4 separate regions of the Homo sapiens genome follow, and all the other regions are linked to region 1. Evidence: promoter capture Hi-C in 16 types of primary human blood cells and fetal thymus (Javierre and others, 2016). All regions are on one chromosome and are shown on one strand. Each heading gives the region's core, a stretch centred on a gene start or on the middle of the fragment in contact. The rest is flanking DNA. Distances are from core to core; before and after follow the strand shown.

Region 1 (3,227 bases), core at 702-3,201:
GAGTGACTGGCCCGAGGTCACAGATTATAGAAAGCAGGACCTGAGTGCATGGGTCTTTCCACTCCAGCAATATGTGATGCCTATGCCAAAATTACAGTACCTTTTTTTCTCCAGTAGAAATATGTTTCAAGCTTAATCAGTGTGTGGTCAACTAATTTCCAGCCTTTCCTTTTCCCGCTATATATATGCCAAACAGTGATGTGATAGAAAAACGAATAGTTGCAGAATTGAGACACTTAAAAACTTCAGTTACAGCTCTAATATATGAGACTTCAGTCAAGTTACTAGCTTTCCTCAACTATAAAAAGGAGATTAGGCAGGACTTGGTGGCTCACGCCTGTAATCCCAGCACTTTGAGAGGCCGAGGCGGGCGGATCACTTGAGGTCAGGAGTTCAAACAGCCTGGCCAACATGGTGAAACCCCGTCTCTATTAAAAATACAAAATTACCCGGGTGCGGTGGCGTGCGCCTGTAATCCCAGCTACTTGGGAGGCTGAGGCAGGAGGATCCCTCGAACCCGGGAGGTGGAAGTTGCAATGAGCCGAGATCACAGCACTGCACTGCACTCCAGCGCGGGCAACAAGAACGAAACTCCGTTTCAAAGAAAGAAAGGAAAGAAAGGAAAGGAAAGGAAAGGAAAGGGAGGGAGGGAAGGAAGGAAGGAAGGAAGGAAGGAAGGAAGGAAGGAAGGAAGGAAAGAAAGGAAAGAAAGAAAGAAATGGAGAATTAGATCAGCGACTCTTTGCCTGGGGGTGGGTGACAGAACAACACTTCTTCCTCCCCTAACAAAAATTACCTATGGAGCTGTGAGGGCTTTCCCCACTGATAGAAATGCCAGCAGAAATTCAGCTACAAATACTCAATCCAATAATCCTTAACATCACTTCCAATCCACAGTTATGATTCCAACGCAATCTTTTCTATACAGTATTTGTCAGCTGTTTTTATTCTTCAGTTTATCATCTTATATTTGGCTCTCAATTTCACCCATAAATTATTGATGGCTTATTATACGCCAAGTACCCTGCGCTCCGCTTTTTGTGGTATCCCTCTTCGGAGCGAGAAGTCACTTAGAATTTTACCCCATCTTCCCCACTTGGGAATCGGAAGGGTTCATAGCTAAGTTTTGTTATTTATAAGCACGCCGGCTCTTCTCTATCCCTCTCTCCACCAACCCCATTTCAAGGTTGGTCCCTCCCAGCGGACGACAGTGATGAATTCCTCTTGGGGACAGCCCTCCCGCAACTAACGGTGGCTCCATCGACGCTCTGGTCTCCTTGCTGCTCGCTGGGAATTCGGGTGGGACGTTTTCCAAAGTTTGGATTCCACGGCACATTCCTCCCTCGGAAAGGCACAACCGGCTCGGCGTGTCAGCTCAGCTGGACTCACGCCGGTGCGGGGCCGCAGCTCCGGTTCTCGCTGGGCGGCTGCGGAGGGCTGGGCGATTCTCTCAGCGTCGCGAGGCGACCCGGGCAGCAGCAAACTTCTCCGCTTCCCCTCTTCGGGACGCGGCACCTCTTCTGCCCTTGAGCACTCCGCAGGAACTTCCCCCGGCCTCGGCTCTCGCTCCGAAATAACCGAGCCAGCTCCTCGCACGCTCCCGCCGTCCTCCTCCGGCTGCGGCCGCGCGCCCGCCGCCACCGCCACCACCGCGCGTGTCCTCACGGGGCCTCAGCTCCCTCCGCCCCCGCAGCCGCCTGCGTGCCCTTCAACAGCTCCCTCCGCCCGGCCGTCGCGGAGAGGAGCGGGGAGCGCGCGCCGGCGCCAGAGACGTGCGCGAGACGCACGGCCCCGCGCCGAGCGCCGGAAGCAGCCGAGTCTGGGCCTCGCGCGTCGCGCGCGCCTCCTCCCCCTCCGCCAGCCGCCGCGGCCTCGCGCGCGCGCACTGAGGCGCCGCCGCCGCCGCGGCTGCTGCAGGAGGCGGCGCTGGCTGGCGGCTGCGCTCGCTCCAGTCGGCGAGCGGAGTAGCGAGCGAGCGTGTGTGTGTTTTTTAAAGATGGCCGGAGCGGCGGCGGCGGTGGCCGCGGGAGCAGCAGCTGGAGCCGCCGCGGCAGCCGTGTCGGTGGCGGCTCCCGGCCGGGCCTCGGCGCCTCCGCCGCCCCCGCCCGTGTACTGTGTGTGCCGGCAGCCGTACGACGTGAACCGCTTCATGATCGAGTGCGATATCTGCAAGGACTGGTTCCACGGCAGGTAAATAAACCCCCTCCAGCCCCGCAGCCGCCACCGCCGGCCACCGACCAACCGCCGCCGCCGCCGGCCGCCCGCGCCTCCCTCGGGCCGGGCCGCCGCGCCGCGCCCAGCTTTCAGGGGGCCCCGGTGCCTAGCCCCCCGGCCGGGCAGTGGGGCGCGCGGTGCCCCGGGTTCGCCGGGCGGGCTCCAGAGGGGAGCCGGTGGGCTCGCCTGGCCCGGGCGAAGAGTCGCCACAACAAACACGAACAAAGAGGGCCGGCGGATAAGTTGGCAGGGGGAGCCTGGGGCGAGGGGACGCGGCCGGGCGGGCGCGGCGGGGGCGTCGGGCGGAGCGCCGGCCGGGTCCGCAGCCCCTCGCCAGCCCGGGCCGCCGCCGCCCCGCCCCGCCCCGCCGCGCCCGGGGCTCCGGCCGGAGTCGCCGGCCGCCCCGCCGCTCTGCCCGGCCGGCCGACGCGCCTGCCTTCCTTCCGGGCGGCGATGGGGTCGCCCCGGCCCCGCGTCTCCTCCGCGCCGCGGGTCCCTGTCGCGCCCCCTTCCCCGTCTTTATCAAACTTCCTGGGCCAGTGGGACGGGGGCAGCGGCGGGCCGGAGAGGCGACCGCGCCAGCCAGCTCGGCGGGGCTCCGCGGAGTAAACAGAGCAACAGATGAGGCACTCGCTCTCGGGGACTTGAAAGGTGCCGGGGAAGTTGGGGCCGGGCCCCCGGCGGGCGGCAGGTTGACCCGGGTCGCGGTCCTGGGCCCCCGCACACACCCGGGTCGCCGGGACTGGGGCAGATGGAGTGGGTTGCGGCGGCCCGAAGGGAACGCTTCTCCGGACCCCCTGCGTTGCCCTCGCGCCGCGGCTTAAACTTTACAAAGAGTGCAGTTGCCATCGCTCGAAGCTGGCGACACCGGGACCGCCTGCGGCTGTGCCCGGGCGCCGGTGCCGGCGAACTTGAGTCGGCCGGGCGGACGCTGCGGGGCCGGCTGGCGGCGGCGGCGGACGCTGCCCTCTGATTCAGCCGCCGCCGCGCTCCGGGTTTGACGTTTGAGAGCT
Region 2 (2,913 bases), core at 414-2,913, 550 kb after region 1:
TTGGAAGGGAGCGACATGTTGGTAGAAAAGGCTGACCGGCGGGAGTTCATTGACCTGTTGAAGAAGATGCTGACCATTGATGCTGACAAGAGAATCACTCCAATCGAAACCCTGAACCATCCCTTTGTCACCATGACACACTTACTCGATTTTCCCCACAGCACACAGTAGGTGTCCTGCCTGATGCTTCGTACCAGGGATCGGCAAACTTTAAAGGCCCAGACACTAAATATTTTAGGTTTTGCGGCCATAAGGTCTTGGTAACAACTACTCAGCTGTCACTGTAGCTGAAAGCAGCCACAGATGCAATACATAAACAGATGAGTGAGGCTGCATTCTAATGAAACATTTATGAAAGTGGGCAGGGCTGGGCGTGGTGTCTCATGCCTGTAATCCTAGCACTTTGGGAGGCCCAGGCAGGTGGATCACCTGAGGTCAGGAGTTCGAGACCAGCCTGGCCAATATGGTGAAACCCTGTCTCTACTAAAAATACAAAAATCAGCTGGGTGTGGTGGGGCGCACCTGTAATCCCAGCTATTTGGGAGGCTGAAGCAGGAGAATTGCTTGAACCTGGGAAGCAGAGGTTGCAGTGAGCCGAGATCGCGCCATTGCACTCCAGCCTGGGCGACAGAGCGAGACTCCATCTCAAAAAAAAAAAAAGGAAAGAAAAAAAGAAAGAAAGTGGGCAGTGGCTGGACTGGGTCCCTGGCCTGCAGTTGGCTTCACACTGAAAAGGAGGGAAGAGGAGAGCACAGAGCTGGATGAACCTGACTCTGGGTATCTGTGCAGGAAGAGAGGTGCCCGAAACGGTAGTCTCTGTAGCGCAAAACTAGTCTCAGGGCCAAAGATTGCTCCCAGAACCTTCCCAGAGTGGACCCAGTCTAGTTTGGGTTTGGATTTGTTCATTCATTTCTTCAGCGTGCTGTGTGCCGGGGTACAGTGGTGAGCAGAGCAGACGGCCCTGCCCACTGGAGCTTGCAGTCCGTAAGAGAGAGAATGGTATAAAACAAGTGATGCCCAAATCACCAGGCTGCTATGAGGACAAGTATCAGGTGTGATGAGAGCATACCCACAGGGGAGCCTCATTTTGGGGCAAACCAGGAAGACTCCCAGGAAGTGGCCTGTGAAGGATGAGGAAGAGGATGGGCATGAGCAGGCAGGGCATTGCCTGTATGGACAGGACACTCCCCCATGGGCAGGACCATGCACCCATCCCAGAAGGCAGTAGGTGAGACAGTGAGGCATCCAGTCAGCCAGGGCAGGCCGTACATGTTAAGGTTTTTAATCTTGATCCAAAAAGCAATGGGAACTCATTAAATGATTCTTCAGCAAGGGAATAGCTGGTTAGATCTGTGTTGAGCAAAGATCTGTCTGCTGCCACACAAGTCAAATGAGTCTGGAAAAAAATGTCCATTCGGTTTAACAACTCACAAGTTGTCAGTAACGCAGTGGCAGCCATTCAGTGGAGTGGTAAAAGCAGAAACCAGTTTACCAGGTTGAAAGACCAAGTGAGAGGTGAAGAAATAGCAACCTTTCATGAAGTGAGGCTATGCAAGAGAAGAAATAGAGGGGTGACTGGGGAGGGGTCAAGGGGATTGTTTTTAAGACAGGGTTCAGAGCACAGGGATGGGCCAGTGTCATTGGAAGGATAGATGGACGAGGGGCATGTGGATGTCAGCGTATGTGCTGGTCTCATGGAGAAAAGTTGAGGGAGTCCTGTCAGACAGCTTCTGCTTCTCAGAAGTAGGCAATGAGGTTATCTGTTGAGAACGAGGTGGAGGGTGGTTTAAGAAGGGTAGAAAGTTTAGGTAGCTGGAGCAGAAGGTGGCAGAGCAAACTGACCAGAGAAATACGGTGGAATTGTTGAGCCCTGAGGTTCGACATGAATCGTTTATAGTGTAACTCATCTCCCCAGGTGAAGGCATAGAGAAGACAGATGAGTCTTCTGATCTAGGTTTGTCCAGGTGGAATTTTTGCCAGGCTGGTAAGAGAAGAAGACAGATTGACAAGGAAGCTGATGAGGCTAGCCAGAGAGTAACTGTAATCCAGAATGATGTCTATTGGAGACTTTGCCCAAAGGGAAAGGAAGTGAAGATGGGAGGGGATCCAAGTAAACGTGGTGTTCTGGTCAATGCAGAGAAGGGTTATCATAGTCATAGTGGAATGAGCCAGATGGAGGAAGAATGTGGCTGGGAAAACAGGATGCTTAAACTTGTAGTTTCTGGAGGTGGAGCAATTTCAGGTTTGACGGTCCAGGGAATGAGTGGCTGTACTGGGTTGAGAACAAGAGTCACTGGACATGAGAAGTAAGCGGGAAGCCAGGGTATTTAAAAAGGGACCTGTGACTTCTGAAGCCTTCCTAGCGAGGCAGGGAATGGCTTGGAGAGGAAGGTCCAGCCAGTGGCAAAGGCCTCAGTGAACGAAGGGGAGAGGAAACGAAGTCATGGCCGGTTGCAGTGGCTCACACCTGTAATCCCAGCACTTTGGGAAGCCAAGGAGGGCGGATCAGCTGAGGTCAGGAGCTCAGACCAGCCTGGCCAGCATGGTAAAACCCCATCTCTACTAAAAATACAAAAATTAGCCAAGCGTGGTGGCCGCACTTCTGTAATCCCAGCTACTTGGGAGGCTGAAGCACAAGAATCGCTTGAACCCAGGAGGCGGAGGTTGCAGTGAGCTGAGATAGTGCCACTGCACTCCAGCCTGGGCGACAGAGCGAGACTCCGTCAAAAAAAAAAAAAAATAGGAAGCCGTTGGTGGATGGGAAGGTAATGGAGGGTCTCACTTCAGCCTCTCAACCCTGAGGTACTTGGGATGTAAAAGAATAAATAATCACATCCTACGTCTGCAGGGAAAAGGGGTGTGCTCAAGAGAGCAGCAGATTCTATAAGGATCAGGAGGGGAAGGGAATCCTGT
Region 3 (3,357 bases), core at 380-2,879, 580 kb after region 1:
AGCGTTTAATTGGGGAGGAAGCTTGATCTTATAGAGGAGCTCTACTTTTAGAACACCTCTAAGGCACCTTGTTGTCCCGGTTGCCTTTCAGAAATACGCATGCTCACGGAAGCCATTATAATCCCATCATGCAGCAGCCTGCACTATTGACCGGTCATGTGACCCTTCCAGCAGCACAGCCCTTAAATGTGGGTGTGGCCCACGTGATGCGGCAGCAGCCAACCAGCACCACCTCCTCCCGGAAGAGTAAGCAGCACCAGTCATCTGTGAGGTAGGTGGTGAGAGCCACCCTAGGGAAGAGAAATCCCAGGGGATGTGAGTGCTAAAGAAATGTAGTTTAGGGAGTATCAGCACCCACTCTGAACATGGGACAGTTGCATGGGATGGGGGCACTCCTCTTCCTGCAGTGACTAGCAAAACATCCTGTACCACCTGGTTTGGCCTAGGGTTTGCAGGAAGCACTTGGTTTAAGACCGTGGTAATAGTGTAGGGATGGATGCAATGGAATCTTGCAGTGGGCAAGAGAGATTGGGCTCAACTCCATACAGCGTGGGCGAGTGAAAATTTATAGCCAAGGCAGGGTTGGGGGGTGTCGGTGGATGGGAAGTTACTAAGAGGAAGCATCAGGGGTAAGGGAGATTCTGCCTAAACTGACCTAACAGGATTCTTGCTAATGACAGGCCCGGGTGATCAGATATCACACCTGGAGGATGAGGAACCTCATCAGATATCGAGGGTGATCAGATATCAGGGATGGTGGGTTCTTGCTAAACTGACTTAGCAAGGTTTTTTGCCAAAAGTAGATTGTACAGCAGAGTGCACAGTTAGACCTAGGAGAAGGTTCACAAGCCTGACTAAAGTTTGGTGAAGCAAATTATCTTTTGTCACTTTCTACTTGTCTGGAGAACACTCAGCTTCACCTGAAGTTTCATTTTGGAAACAATTTACCATAATAATTGTTTTAAAATATTTTAAAATGTTGAAGTTGTTTAAAAATGTTTTAAAAAATACTAAAGAAATGTGCTTTCTTTGTATCTAAGATCAGAAGTTTAACTGATTTAGCACCTTGCTTAAATAGAAGCAATAGCTTGTTTAATCCCAGACACTAACCAGCAGAACACAAATCTTTCCCATTCCCTTTAAATCCATTCTCATCTCAATGAACACTTTGAAAAAATCAAGGTCAACAAAAGGCTGCATGCTGTATGATTCCATCTATATGGCATTTCGGAAAAGGCAAAACATAGAGACAGAGATCCGATTAGGGCTTGCCAGAGACCAGTAGGAGAGGAGGAGATTGACTGCGAAGAATCCTGAGGGGAAAAGCTCTAAGTCTGGATTGTAGGGGGGGTTATGACTGTGCATTTGTCAAAACTCATCAAACACTTCAAAGGGAGAAATGTTGCTATATGTCAGTTATACCTTAATAAACCTGACTTTTTAAAAAATGGAGATTTCCAAGCCAGAGAGAGAGAGAGAGATCGTGTGACTACAGGATTGCTCCTGCATCTCTTCCTAATGGCACAGCTTTGAGGTGCTTAATTGCTTATTTGCGATAAGTCAATCAAGAGAAATCTGGTATACAAAATGTCTAGTGATTTTGGTTTTCTGCTTCCTCATATAAGCAGATACCAGAAACTAGGCCTTTTTCTTTTCATTCTTATTCAAAAATTCATCCAAGGGCTGAAGTTGTCATCCTCCAAGATTCCTTATTTGGGTATTTCTGACAACTCAGGGAAATTTATCTCAGATCATTGGCAGCTTTCCAGAACGCTTTTGTTTGGCAGCCTTGTGACAGCTCACCCATGTCATTATTAGACTGGGTGGCAACAAAGTCCACTGTCTCAATCCTCATGGGCTGTCATGCCCAGCAAGGTCACATGGAGCACTACTCTGTCCCAGGACTGAGCTTAGCATCTTTGTGGTTCACCTTGGCTGAGTAGGGGCAGTAAGAACCCTTAGCCTCCCAACCTGTTTAGCAAGTCCCTCCTTTTTGTTTACTCACCACCCAGCTGACTTCATGAAGCCTCATTGCCAGTACATTTCAAGATCGATATAATTATAGTGAAAGGTATGTATTTGCTTATTTTTAAGACCAATGCCTTAGCAAAACAGTCTGAAAGACCAGAAGTCTCTCCCTTGTTGGTGATGTGGCCAGGCATACTTTTCCTTAACAATGCCAAGTGGAGATACTAAAACCATTGGTAGTGAAAAACATAATCTTAAAATTGTAATGTATTAGCAACGACAAATACATAGGTTTATAGTAAGTACAAACAATGGTACAATCATATCAGTGAAACATATTACCAGTCCCTAGAAGGAGCAAGCAATGTATCTGGCACTAGCTAGATAGGAAAATAAATCCACCTTTATTGAATTATTTTCATTTTACTGCCATCCCTTTAGCTAGAAGGTGCTAGAATCTCTAAAGACATATAAAAGTCTGAGTTTCATTATACATTGCTGTTAGTCTCTCACTGCATAGATACTACAGGTTGAGCATCCCTAATCCAGAACTCCAAAATTGTCCCAAATTCGGAACTTTTTGAGGATTGACATGATGCCGTAAGTGGAAAATTCCACACCTGACATGTGGTCTCAGTCAAAACTTTGTTTCATCCAGAAAATTATTATAAAATAATGTATAAAATGACCTCAGGCTATGTGTATAAGGTGTATATGAAACAAAAGAATTTTGTGTTTAGACTTGGGTTTCATCCCCAATATATCTCATTATGTATATGCAAATATTCCAAAATCTGAAAACAAAAATCCGAAACACTTCTGGACCAAGCATTTCAGGTAAAAGATGTTCACCCTGTGCCAGAGTCAGTGAGGATCTAATAGGGAGGGGAGAAAGTATTTTTCCCCTAAAGTTACCAAAAATCACACTGGTTAATTTAGTAAGGAATTTCAAGTTGATCAAAATTAAGATTAAAAGTTCTCTTTTTAAGAGTGCTTTTTCAAAACTCTTGCACTTTTCCAAATTTTCTATTACAATTTAGACTAATGCGCCTCCCATGAGGCTCCACGAGGCAAAATCCAGAAAAATCATTTTTAAGGTTTTTAGCAATTATATGCACACAAATACTTTGATGGTCATGTTCTTTTTCCAGAGGAGGAAAGAAGGAAAACTGAACCACTGGTCACCAAGGTTAGGTCCTTTAGATCCTGAAACTCTTAAGGAATGAATGTTTCAGTAGAATAACCATTAGCAAGGAAACCAAAGCTTGATGTGGCAAACACCAATTCTTCCACCACCCCCAAAACAAGACTTAAGTACCTTTGAAGGGATGACACAAGACAGAGCTCAGAAGTAGGGCCTTGACCCTGAAGGCGAGGGGGTGTGTTGGG
Region 4 (3,189 bases), core at 623-3,122, 530 kb after region 1:
CACAGTGCAGTGGGGGAGACCTCCTCAGACGATACCTGTTTTATTGGAATATCCCTTAGGCTGCAATGGAAATTCACTCTCTAACTTGTGTTTGACATTTTTACTGAGTGGGTTCCTTTTCATAGCTCAAGTTTCTGGCTTCTGTTCTCTTAATTGGTATGTCTCCGGCTGGTGACACTGAATGTATCTCCCTTTCAAAGAAGGAGCAAGTTTCTGTCTTTTATCCCAGACTGTCAGCCATAAAGACTGACTGTGACTTAGCTCCACAAGCCACATGATCAGATGGTGCTGTAAGGAAAGAAAATACCCCAAAGATGAGCCTTGTCTATGGCACAGTCACTCATCTGAGAGTTGGGGATTCGGGGCTTCTCCAGTGGAGGCACTGGGAACCTTGGAAAGGAAAGCATCGTGTTTCTTCTGCCTGTTGTTGGTTCATTCATTCATCCAGCAAACACTTATTGAGGCCTCACCATGAACCAGTCGAAGCTAAATGTTGAAGCAATGAGAAGTTTTGCATTTAAATCAGTAAAGTTGCACATAAGTGATGTTACTTTCTTAGTATGCATCCATCTAGAGTAGAGGGTGAACCTTGAATTAATGTGTTAGTGTGGAAGAGACCAGCCTTTTCCCCAGCCTCACATCTCATGATCACTATAAGTGGGTAACATCACCAGGCTGAATAAAGTGAAGACGCCACATCTGCAGTTGATCCACAGGAATTGAAATTCCAAATCCCTTGCCAGTGCAGAGAAAAGAAGAGTGGTCCCAGAAAGCTGAAAAGTGACAGCAGGTGACAGTGGGACTTGGGTTAGGCCTTCCCAGAATCAGCAGGCTTCCCAACACAGCTCTAAATGCCCAGTTTCAACCCTCGGCTTCAGTCAACAGACTAACAATGAATCGGAAGAAAAACAGTCAACAAAAGGATCCATGATGAGGACCATCATAAAAGAATGGCTGAGGCCTGGCTCCTTTCTCAGCCACTGTGTTGGGATTCCCAGCCTCTGGCCTTTGCGCTCACCTGGGCAGGAGCCTCATCTGAGCACAGTGGCAGAGCACAGCGAGGCATGGGGGCTGCCACACCGATGTGCACCCATACCCAGGCTTGAGTGTGCAGGCTGCATGTCACCTCCCACACATGGTGACTTCAGAGCCCCTTTGAGGAGGAGGGACAGCGGATGGGAGGAAATACCACAGGGCTTTTGTGATGTTGACAGTGCTCTGTTTCTTCACCTGGCTGGTAGTGACACTGGTCTTTGTTTTCCAATAAGTTGTTAAGGTATACGTTTTTGTTGTATACTTCTTTGTATATATATTCTCTTTCATAATTAAAAAAAAAGATAAAAACATTTAAAAAGAGCCTGGAGCAGTATACATATGAAAAGATTACATAGATAGGCACCTGCAGAGACACATGGTTCCATTTCTCTGGCTGATAGGTGCTTCTGCAAACATTTGTTGAGCACATTCTTTGACAAAAGTCACCAAGCATAAAGCGTGGCCTGGTGACACTGTAGTCTGGTAGAGTGCTGGGAGGTCAGAACAGGCTTTCTCCAGCAACGCAGAGCTTCATGGTATAGCACCAGAGACCAGATTGGGGGATATTGGGCCACCCAGGCCAGGGATGGGTAAAGCAGGCACAGCACGTGTCAGGAGTATAAGGATCTCAGGAATTACAGGGCAGCGTGAGTATCTTTGAAATACTTATCATGGAGTCCAAACTGGTTCTTCTAGGAACCTTCCTCATTGACATTACAATTCATAGTTTTCTTTTTTTCTTCTTTCCTTCCCTTCTTGCTTTTCTTATTTCACCAAGTCAAGTCAATATCGTTTAGGTGGATCCATGTCCCTGGCTGTACTTTCTTCACTTTATTCTACATGCACAAGCACATAACCACAAATTTAGAGGCCAGTATGCTCTGGACATCTGAGAACTGGTTTCCAGTTTGCACCAACATCACCAGAAGCCTTTGGAGATTATATTCATTTCAGTTGCAGATGCAACCTTCTCCTCTGGCATGTAAACAAGTGAGTTAGATTTTGGTGCTACGCTTAGCAGAGTTGGAGCAGGACTAAGAACGAAGGATCAGTGTGAAAATGTGTGTGTGTGTGTGTGTGTGTGTGTGTATTTAGTACATATTCAGAGCCAAGATGTTCACTGCCAATATGAATAGAAAAAACCGCCAATCTGATTCTAACATTATACAGGGAATGGCCAGTTGAATCAAGGAAGCCTGCATCCTTTAAGAGACTGTCCAAGTGTGCCATGAGAATGATGTCAACATCTAGACCCAACTGCAATTATATCAACCTCCATATGGATATGATGGTTCATTCTGAAGTCTTCAGCACTTGTATTGGTGATAGCTGAAGATACTCAGTTATGACAGAATCATCAGTGAGGGTCTGAAATGATCCTCCTTAGCACACAGTTTTATGGACATCAGTAGCGGCCCCTTAGGTAGAAAATCTCTGCAACAGTGGTTCTACGTGTATTACATCAAGCTGCAACCACCCAGAAGTTTGGGTGTCGTGTCTGTCCCCCCAGCTCTCCTTTTGGAGTTGGAACCCTGTTCCCTTGCAGCAGCTCTCCACCTTAATTTCTTCAGCTTATAACCAGGCAAAAGTACCCTGCTGCAGAGTGCACAGAGATCTTGGGGTCCACGGTGTTTGGCTTGGCCATTCCAAGGATGGCTCCGTGGAAGCCAGCGCAATGGGTGGGCCCCTTGTCAACCTCCCCCATGTTTTGCTCCTAGAGCTTCATCTCTGGGTCCCTTTTTCCTTTTGCTTGTCTGCCTATCACCCTAATCAAAGACAAAACTATTTCTCTTTGATCTCCTGTTTGCCTAGGAAGCTGTGTGTCTTTTTAAGAATCCAATCACAGGTTGACCTGGGATTAGCTCACCTCAATGGCCATCTACATCTCCACTTGGACCTTCTGGATCCCCCTAGGCATGGTGTGGATTCATCCTGTGGGGAGGCTGCCCCTGTTTTCCCAGCAGGCTTGCCTGTGGTCACAGGGCGTGTTGTCTCTCCATGCAGCTGCCCCGAGGTGCTTTCCAGCCCTTGCCTTTCTGGCTGTCTTCTGTGCAGCTCTCTCTTACCTCTGGCTCCAATTCCTCTGAAATAGCCTCCTCCTCCTCCCTGCTCTTCAGATTTCTGCCACTGTTTCTTGGGTCCTGTGCTGCTTCA

What was found. The method cuts DNA at HindIII sites, captures the fragments that hold promoters and counts their contacts. A CHiCAGO score of 5 or more calls a contact.
Region 2: a contact is called between a fragment that was not itself captured here and the fragment with the promoter of KDM7A in region 1, in 2 of 17 cell types (fetal thymus and naive CD4 T cells). The highest score is 7.2, in fetal thymus.
Region 3: a fragment that was not itself captured here is called in contact with the fragment with the promoter of KDM7A in region 1 in 2 of 17 cell types (monocytes and fetal thymus); the score reaches 5.2 in monocytes.
Region 4: a contact is called between a fragment that was not itself captured here and the fragment with the promoter of KDM7A in region 1, in 2 of 17 cell types (neutrophils and fetal thymus). The highest score is 7.7, in neutrophils.

The regions. Positions count from the first base shown.
Region 1 is chr7:140,175,707-140,178,933 of GRCh38, reverse strand. KDM7A (lysine demethylase 7A) reads left to right here and starts at 1,951. Exons shown (of 20, transcript NM_030647.2): 1 at 1,951-2,190. The coding sequence starts at 1,997. It overlaps KDM7A-DT (KDM7A divergent transcript), which reads right to left and starts at 1,673. Exons shown (of 1, transcript NR_024451.1): 1 at 1-1,673. RefSeq lists silencers at 1,543-1,972, 2,013-2,112, 2,753-2,932, 2,943-3,222 and an enhancer at 1,395-2,318. The HindIII fragment of the contact is 8,961 bases long and covers 134-3,227 here.
Region 2 is chr7:139,623,855-139,626,767 of GRCh38, reverse strand. HIPK2 (homeodomain interacting protein kinase 2) reads left to right here. Exons shown (of 15, transcript NM_022740.5): 6 at 1-167. Among named protein-coding and RNA genes, the nearest start is that of CLEC2L, 100 kb to the right of the region's middle. RefSeq lists a silencer at 169-379. The HindIII fragment of the contact is 7,682 bases long and covers 1-2,913 here.
Region 3 is chr7:139,597,331-139,600,687 of GRCh38, reverse strand. HIPK2 (homeodomain interacting protein kinase 2) reads left to right here. Exons shown (of 15, transcript NM_022740.5): 11 at 92-271. The region is part of intron 2 of LOC105375530 (a long non-coding RNA gene); the gene reads right to left. Among named protein-coding and RNA genes, the nearest start is that of CLEC2L, 75 kb to the right of the region's middle. The HindIII fragment of the contact is 3,211 bases long and covers 24-3,234 here.
Region 4 is chr7:139,642,317-139,645,505 of GRCh38, reverse strand. The region is part of intron 2 of HIPK2 (homeodomain interacting protein kinase 2); the gene reads left to right. Among named protein-coding and RNA genes, the nearest start is that of CLEC2L, 120 kb to the right of the region's middle. The HindIII fragment of the contact is 6,710 bases long and covers 1-3,189 here.